Linked DNA regions of Homo sapiens: regions 2 and 3 are each linked to region 1. Evidence: promoter capture Hi-C in human tissues and cell types (Jung and others, 2019). All regions are on one chromosome and are shown on one strand. Each heading gives the region's core, a stretch centred on a gene start or on the middle of the fragment in contact. The rest is flanking DNA. Distances are from core to core; before and after follow the strand shown. Region 1 holds the start of SNX6 (sorting nexin 6). Region 2 overlaps PRORP (protein only RNase P catalytic subunit). Region 3 holds the start of PSMA6 (proteasome 20S subunit alpha 6).

Region 1 (2,893 bases), core at 63-2,562:
GTCCTACTAAAAATACAAAAAAATTAGCCGGGTGTGGTGGCACACACCTGTAGTCCCAGCTACTCGGGAGGCTGAGGCAGGAGAATGGCGTGAACCCTGGAGGTGGAGCTTACAGTGAGCCGAGATCGCACCACTGCACTCCAGCCTGGGCGACAGAGCGAGACTCTGTCTCAAAAAAAAAAAAAAAAGAGGTATGAAGGACAATCAATTGTAGAAGCCATAGGATTTGGTTGGATATGAGGAGTAAGGGAGATAAGGATTTATTTCTTTCTTTTTTTGAGACAGAGTCTTGCTCTGTTGCCCAGGCTGGAGTGCAGTGGTGCAATCTCGGCTCACTGCAACCTCTGCCTTCCAGGTTCAAGCGATTCTTTTGCTTCAGCCTCCCAAGTAGCTGAGATTACAGGCACGCGCCACCACGCCCGGCTAATTTTTGTATTTTTAGTAGAGACGGGGTTTCACCATGTTAGCCAGGATGGTCTCAAACTCCTGACCTCAGGTGATCCGCCCGCCTTGGCCTCCCAAAGTGCTGGAATTAGAGACGTGAGCCACAGCGCCCGGCCCCTAGAGTACGGATTTCAATGGGTTAAGGGTTTCTGGTCTGAACATCTGAAGATGCCTTTCCTTAACTGAATGCAAGCTCAGGAACGTGTAGATTCTAGGATTAAGTATGATTTTCTCCCGTTATTTGAAATGCCTGTGGATCCCGTGTGATGCTAACCACCTGGACAGTTAGAGTAGGTGTGGGGAAATTTCTTCTAACAAAGGAAAGGAATATTTTTGTAATGAAAACAGCTCATTTTTATAGTTCGCAACCATTAGTGCCCCAAACTCTGAGGTAGTTATTACCTCGCCAGCGGTAAAAGCTTGATTATAGTCCCTGATTACCGACTGTGTGAAGGTCCTTGTTTCCAGCAACTTCCATAGGCAAAATGATATTAATTGTGATTAATTATCGTGTGGCATAATACAAAGACCAGATGATGTATTATGGCTTCCGGAGGGCGCCTGCATCGTTTTTCGCTGGAGCCCTCGGGGCAGGGGAACTGGAGAGCTCCCTGGGTGGCCTTTGGCCCTTCCCTGGTCAGAGCCCGCCAGCTGCGAGGTGCCCCCAGCCATGAGGTCTGGGTCTTCAGGCTCTCCCGACTTCGGTGCCTTGACCTTGGGCAGAAGGCCCTGTTAACCTTCCTCGCTCACGGACTCGAGCGACCAGCGCCGGGGACGGGGCGGGCCGTCCTTAGGCCCCGCCCCTTCGCCTCCGCCCCGCCCCGCCCCGCTCCTGGCCGCCGGCTCCCTCCGGCAGCAGGGAGATGCGCGCCTGCGCCGGCCCTCGCCTCGGAGCAGCCATGATGGTGGGTGTTCTCCGCGGCGCCGAGTCCCGGGAGCGCGGTGGGGGCAGCGGGCGCGGGGCGGGCGCGGGGACCGCGCCAGCCTGTCACTAATGTCTCCCTTTGTGTCTCCCCCATCTCATCCTTTTCCCCGGCGCGCCGTGCCCGCCGACCCCACAGGAAGGCCTGGACGACGGCCCGGACTTCCTCTCAGAAGAGGACCGCGGAGTAAGTTCTGCCTTCCTTTCGCTCGCGGGACCCTGGACCCTCCTTCCCCATCCTGGGTCCCCGGGTGTGGTACGGGGATGGGTCCCCAGCCGCGCGGCACTCCCTCCCCGTAGTCCTCCTTTCGGTTTCCTCGCTGCACCGCGCCCCACCCTCCCGCAGCCCTTCCTCCCTAGGGGCCGCTCGGCTCCGATTCCCGGGGACCCGCGGCCGCTTTCTTGTCCCCCGCCGCTGTTCGGGCCTTCTGGTGGACCTCCACTCCCACGCGGGGCGGGGTGCAGGTGGCGAAGTGGAAATGGAGGCGGGAGATGGAACGCCCCCACCCTCCCTCGACACTTTGGGGCCATGAAAACCCATTCTCGGACCTTCCCAGCGGCACCCTCAATTTTCACCCGGTGTGGACATCTCGAACTTGCTCCCGCCCACCCTTCTGTCTCTCTCAAATAGTACAGGTGTAGTCTACATTACCATTTTGCAAGGATTTTTATAGTAGCCGAATCAACTCCTGTCCAGTGCCCTACTAGATTATGCAAAGTGCAGGTAGCCCATGGTATCTTTACTTTTTCTAATATCCAACAAATCCTGTCTTTGGCAGGATTTCCTTGGTGTTTTATTCCCCCTTAGCTTCTTTGAGGTATATTGACAAATACTGTTGATAATTGTATATACTTAAGGTATACATTATATTTTAATACACGAATACATTGTGAAATGAGTACCAAAATCAACCTGACATATCCATCACCTCACCTAGTTACCATTTTTTTTTGTGTGAGAACATTTGAGATCTAAGCAAATTTCAAGTATGTACCCTTTGACCAACATCGACGCTCCACCCACTCACCCCCCACATACACACTCCGCCAGGCCTTTGATAACCTCCATTCTGCCCTTGGTGTTCTGAGGTTAGTTGCATTCTACTTCAGAAAGAGCCTTCCGGGCTCTGATTCCTCCCTCCCACCCCACTCTCCACCCCCTTTTTCCTTGGCTGAAGGGTGGTAATCTTTATAGTCCCTTGTACAAGTGAGCACTTGGAAAATGTTGATATATGATAATTACCATTCAGCAAGGTTCCATGGTTCCTTCACATTTCACAGCCTGCACTTCAGTTTTCCCTTTTGCTTTTTCTTATCCGTTTTAATGTGAGAGAGACATCTGTTAGTGCATATTTGGTAGGTGATAAAATATTGTGGGATGTTATTGCTGTTTGTAATAACAGATGAGGTAGTTAGTATGAACTGATGACTTTTATAAAACTTTTATTTATTTATTTGGTTTTATGAGACAGTATCTCCCTTTGTTGCCCAGGCTGGAGTGCAGTGGCATGGTTATAGCTCACTGCA
Region 2 (2,970 bases), core at 294-2,793, 590 kb before region 1:
CATTGTTTTCTTTATGGATGCCTCTGGTGCTTACTTTTAGTGAGGACCTCTGAATCTGGCATCCTTTAATCTCTGTTGTTCATGTGTTCAGGTTCAGTGACTGCTATTATTCTTCTTAAGCTAAAGATAACAGAAAGTATTTTTGTGTTTGGAGAGGTGAATATAATATTAAGAAATGACAACTAAAAATAAATCTTCAAGGTTACGTTCAGGTGGAAATGGTGGAGAAAGATTAAATGGGAAAAGAAGTACAAGACAAGTGAAGTGACTGAAAAAAATAGTTACTTCCGATGAATTCATTTTGCTACACCTGGATAAATTTTGTCCTCAGATACCAAAAAGAAAGCTTGCATATATTAATATACAACCACTACTGGTTATCTGTAAAGAAGGGAGAAAGGGAAGAATAGAAGTCTGAAGATAAACAAACATGACTGTGATTTTCAAAAACGAAGAGAATATGGTTCTTGAATACCAGAACAACCGCTCAGAAAAGGGGCATGACCATGGGAGGCCAGGTCATAGTAGGATACTAACTTCTGCTGCCACCACTGTGAAATGTCTCTAACCACATTTATGCTCCAGAGTCAAAGCCCCAGGAGACAGCACAACTGGCCAAGCATAGATTTTGTGTTTATGTCCTGGTTGTAGGGCTGGAGCCAGGGTGAGGTGACTAAGGCACTCGTTTTTGGCACACAATTTAAAGGAGCACCAACAAACTCCCCAATCAAGACAAACAATATTTCAAAAAATCAAAACTAATGCCAAAAAAAAATCCATGTTGAAATACAATAGAAAAATTTAAAGAAAGACAGAATCAACAGCAGTGCCATACCAAGCCATATTAGAGCTTGAGGCAAAAGGGAAAACCAATTATACTGATCATGTCTTTCTTTAAGGTTTTGATATTTTATTCATCATGGATTTTTTTGCATCAATTATGATTTTAATAAACAATGCATTAAAATATTCTTTATCTTAATTATAAGTTTTTTGGTATCCCCTTAAATGTTACAGCTGAGTCAAGTGGCTCACTCTCCTCACCCTAGTCCCAGTCCTGCACAATTGCCTGGAACCACCTTGCGTTCTCCCCTATGGGAGGCAAGGCTCTAAAACAGGAAGTGGATGGATGAGGATGCTGGGCTGCCAGAAACCCAGCTAATATCTACTACAACTTGTGGGCATTTGTACTGGCTGCTCCCTCTGCCTGGAATGTGAATCTGTCCTGCCTCCCCAGTCTCTTCTTGATCTTCAGGTCTTTAACACTGGCTTAGGAATCTCTGCTTGTGCTCCCTTAGATCCTATACTAAACATTATCCAAATACTTATCACAGTGTCTTGCAATTTATTTGTTTACATCCTCCCCCAGATTATAATCTTAGATGACATGGATTCTAGTATACTCATCCCTGCATCATTCTAATACCTACTAGACTGCCTGGCACATATTAGGCCCTCAATAAATATTTGCTGAATGAATAGAATAAAAGCCATGTCATGGGGAATAATTAAAATTAAAGGTGTTGATCTTGGAAAAGAACAGACTCAGGAAAATATAGTAGTTGTCTTCATCTGAATGGCTATCATGAGGAAGACTGAAATTGCTGTTCCTCAGTCTTTTTTGTTTGCTCCCAACCCTCCTGGAGGGGATTCATTACATTTCCATCACAACTGGCTCACAATGTCATGAACTGTTCATTAAGTCTGAGGTTTTGCGGGGCTGGTGTTAGAGAGGATCTTACACCTCCTATAATGCCGTGTCAGAATGGTGGAGAGGCAGTGCATGTGTTATTCTCCCTCAACCTGAGAATCATGGGACTAGTCTTTCTTAACCCCTATTAACTGTGCAGGAGAGATCTAGAATGTGTTCTCAAATATTATACCAGAATAGATTTAGCTCAATAGAATGAATAATTTTTAACCTTTAGAGTTGTTCATAAACAGCATATATTGACATAAAATGACGAATGTGTCATGACTACAAACCTGAAACTCCTTGTTTGGAGTGTTGTAAAGTGAATCTGGTAGAAAGGAAAGTGAGATAGGGGACATGGTGGTATAATGGGTTGAAGGGTGAACTTCAAAAATATATGTTTATGTCCTAACACCCAGAACTTGTGAATGTGACCTTATTTGGGAAAAGGATCTTTTCAAATACAATCAAGTTAAGGACTCAAGATGAGATCCTCCTAGACTACCCATGTGGGTATTAAATCCAATGACCTTTTGAGACAAAAAGAGACAACACACAGAGAAAGCAGTTGTGAGAAGATGGCGGCAGGGAATTTAGACAAGTAGACTTTAAGACCTTCTAAATTTAAGAAACTTTTTTCTAGCCATTTCCTGCCTGGCAGAAAACAAACAAACAAACAATTCAAAAAATAGAGTCCATGTGGGAAGCTACCACATGGAAAGCTAGTAAAGTTTTTCTGCAGTGTTTCCAGAAACTGACACCTCTACTCTCTAGACAATAGAGAGGTGTATTTTGATACAAGCAAATATTAAGTAGGCATACAAGAATTTGCCAGTATAAATTAACTAGCAATGTTATAAATTTCTCAGTACCAGCCTATCTCTAACCAATGCATGAAGCTGTGTCCAACATGTAGGGTGCCATTAGGCACCCCCAAATGTCATGGTCACTTAGAGAATGACAGCAAATCCAAATCATGCAGGTAAGGGGCAAGGTATGCTTTTTGAGTGGCCACCAAATACTTTTCAAGTACTCAGGACCTAAACACTGTCACATGTGGGCCAACAGTTTTCATAAATGCTGCATGTCCCTTTGTAGAAAAAATGTCTCCATAGGCCTATCTCACCTACCTTTAGCTTGCTATTAATTTTACAGAATGGGCTTAGAAAATCTGAGTAGGAAGGCAGCAGAAGGCCCCACCCTGAGGTGGGCATGTTTCCACCATGCAGAGAGTCCTAAGGGGCTCGGCCACATGCACCATGTTCCTGACTGCCTTC
Region 3 (2,700 bases), core at 143-2,642, 660 kb before region 1:
GAATTTAATACAATAAATGAAAATTCTTTGAGGATACAGTTATCTCTTTGTTCTATCTTTAATCATGTTTTTCAATTGGGGATAAATTAAAAGGGCTACTGAATTATCCAACAAGATGTTTCTTGCTACATTATATACACTATGCAGTAATACACTGAGCAGTTTCATTCCAAGTTATCTTTAACTCTATTTCTAAAATTTACAGGTGAAGAGAACCTCATTTACAGACCAACTCTCTCCTTATGATTCCAAGCACAGATGATTATATTACTGTGCAAGACACGGAGCCACTAAACTCATTCAAAAATAAAACCATCACGGACCAGATGTAAATCAAGCCCTCCTGACACTAAATTCTCTATGGTAAGAGATCAAGGGTCTGGCTTATAATCATAACCTAAACCTTGACACCGTTTCAGCGCAATACATTACTATTCCGAGTAACTGATAGTTTCTTTCCACTACAGGTGTTCTTCAGTAAACTAGTACACAGTACCTCATCTACAACTCAGAATCGGCATTTAAATTACAGGAGCATTCAAACAGATGTGGGTAAAAAGGGGATGCCAATCTCAAGAGCAGCTCTAGAATTGAGTCACTCATTCTATCAGATTCCCAAAGATGTCTTGAACTCTGTAGATATTTGTAAATTGGCACTTTTAATTTTTTTTATCCGTTTGTTTAACGTATCTGTCACTCTAAGCTGTGAGCTTCAGTATAGAAGAGGGTGTAACATTCACATTTGTATCTCCTAGGACTAGCAGTGTCTGGTATATAGCAGGCTTCGAGTGCCTGTGTGGAATTAACCACAGAAGTCCATGCTGCAAACAAAGGAAAACGGAGAGGAGGCATTTTAGTTGAGACGTTAAGGAATCAATTACCCTTTAGAAACAGACCTTGTGCCTGGCCAGGACAGAATACAATAACTGAAGGGGCCTCACGAAGCCGGAGTCAGGCATTACAGCCCTATCTTCCTTAACTCTCCATTGGGTCTACGCAGTGTGGCCGCTCGCCCTGCAGAGACAGGCCTTCAGGCCCCCGATCCCTGCGTCCAGACGGGGGTGCAAACACCACAGAGCTCAATCCAGCTTCAGCCGTTCTCCCTTCCCAGCTCCAGCCCAGCTTCGGCCCCAGACTAAACCCGGGCCGCGTCTGCTCGCTCCAGGCACGTACCATGACAGGGCAATTCAGGTGGCCCACAGGCGAACCTGGTTCACTCACCTACTTGGTAGAGCCGACCCTCGGGTGAAAAAATGGTAATGTGGCGGTCAAAACCGGCGCTGGAACCACGGGACATGTTGGTAGAAGCACTACTTTAAACACAATCCCTGGGCCCCGTAGCTCCCGCACCAGGCACACAAGCACCTCCCGGAAGTTGCAGCGACTGCTTCCGGGGTACCAGCCGCGTTTCTTCCGCTCTTGCATGCCGAACTCACGGCTCTGGAGCCAGTTCGAGCACTGAGCTCTGAGGCCCCGCCCCCTAAGGGGGTGGTGGAGTGAGGGCGGGAGGCCTTTGAAGGTATGCGCCTGCGCCAAGCAGGCCTCTTGAGTGGATAGACGTGAAACTTGGGTCGTGGCGCTTTCAGGCTTTCATCTGGAGAATGAATTGACTATAGCAAGGACGAAAAGGCTTCCTGGGGGCCCAGAATAGCGATTTGCCTATCAGTGTGACCTAAATAGAACGTGTAATTAACAAGTCTCTTACATGCATCCTGTGTCTGGTCAGACTGCTGGCTTGCCTTCTTCCTAACCTCTTTTATCCTCCACTTTCATTCCTATTACGGGGGAAACAGGTTGCAGCTGCAGCTGCAGCCGTTAAATTTAGGCACTGAAGGAAGCGGGTTCAAGCAGCCGCTGGAAAGAACATTATTTTCTGACAGCCAGGCAAGATCTTCTTTTGGCCAGCAGCCCCGACAATTTTTAGTCTTTTTTTTTTTTTTTTTTTTTTTTGAGACAGAGTTTCGCCCTTGTTGCCCAGGCTGGAGTGCAATGGCGCGATCTCGGCTGACTGCAACCTCCCCCTCCTGAGTTCAAGCGATTCTCCTGCCTCATCCTCCCGAGTAGCTGGGATTATAGGCGTGTGCCACCAGGACCGGCTAATTTTGTATTTTTAGTAGAGGCGGGGTTTCGCCATGTTGGTCAGGCAGCTCTCGAACTCCTGAGCCCAAGTGATCCACCTTCCTCGGCCTCCCAGAGTGCTGGGATTACAGGCTTGAGCCACAGTGCCCAGGCAATTTTTAGTCTTGAAAGCGGAGGCCGGGCGCGGTGGCTCACGCCTGTAATCCCAGCACTTTGGGAGACCAAGGCGGGCGGATCACGAGGTCAGGAGATTGAGACCATCCTGGCTAACACGGTGAAACCCCGTCTCTACTAAAAAATACAAAAAAAATTAGCCAGGCGTGGTGGCGGGCGCCTGTAGTCCCATATACTTGGGAGGCTGAGGCAGGAGAACGGCGTGAACCGGAGAGGCGGAGCTTGCAGTGAGCCGAGATCATGCCACTGCACTCCAGCCTGGGCGACAGAGCGAGACTCCGTCTCAAAAAAAAAAAAAAAGAAAGAAAGCCTAACTCCAGCCTGGCCAACATAGGAAGGCCCCGTCTCTACAAAAAATAAAATTAGCTGTGCGTGGTGGCGCGCGCCAGTAGTCCCAGCTACTCGGGGGGCTAAGGTGGGAGGATGGCTTGAGCCCAGGAGATCCAG

Evidence for each region. The method cuts DNA at HindIII sites, captures the fragments that hold promoters and counts their contacts. A contact is called where the count stands out against the background at its distance.
Region 2: a contact is called between a fragment that was not itself captured here and the fragment with the promoter of SNX6 in region 1, in 1 of the 25 tissues and cell types used here (adrenal gland).
Region 3: a contact is called between the fragment with the promoter of PSMA6 here and the fragment with the promoter of SNX6 in region 1, in 1 of the 25 tissues and cell types used here (mesendoderm cells).

The regions. Positions count from the first base shown.
Region 1 is chr14:34,628,567-34,631,459 of GRCh38, reverse strand. SNX6 (sorting nexin 6) reads left to right here and starts at 1,312. Exons shown (of 14, transcript NM_152233.4): 1 at 1,312-1,349; 2 at 1,506-1,553. The coding sequence starts at 1,344. RefSeq lists an enhancer at 989-1,038 and a silencer at 1,209-1,558. The HindIII fragment of the contact is 20,741 bases long and covers 1-2,893 here.
Region 2 is chr14:35,219,266-35,222,235 of GRCh38, reverse strand. All of the region lies in intron 5 of PRORP (protein only RNase P catalytic subunit), which reads right to left. All of the region lies in intron 5 of PRORP-PSMA6 (PRORP-PSMA6 readthrough), which reads right to left. It also overlaps the pseudogene MRPL57P8 and the pseudogene DPRXP3. Among named protein-coding and RNA genes, the nearest start is that of PSMA6, 72 kb to the left of the region's middle. The HindIII fragment of the contact is 6,682 bases long and covers 1-2,970 here.
Region 3 is chr14:35,291,074-35,293,773 of GRCh38, reverse strand. It overlaps PSMA6 (proteasome 20S subunit alpha 6), which reads right to left and starts at 1,392. Exons shown (of 7, transcript NM_002791.3): 1 at 1,222-1,392. The coding sequence starts at 1,297. All of the region lies in intron 9 of PRORP-PSMA6 (PRORP-PSMA6 readthrough), which reads right to left. RefSeq lists enhancers at 929-988, 1,069-1,188, 1,309-1,388, 1,105-1,691. The HindIII fragment of the contact is 27,585 bases long and covers 1-2,700 here.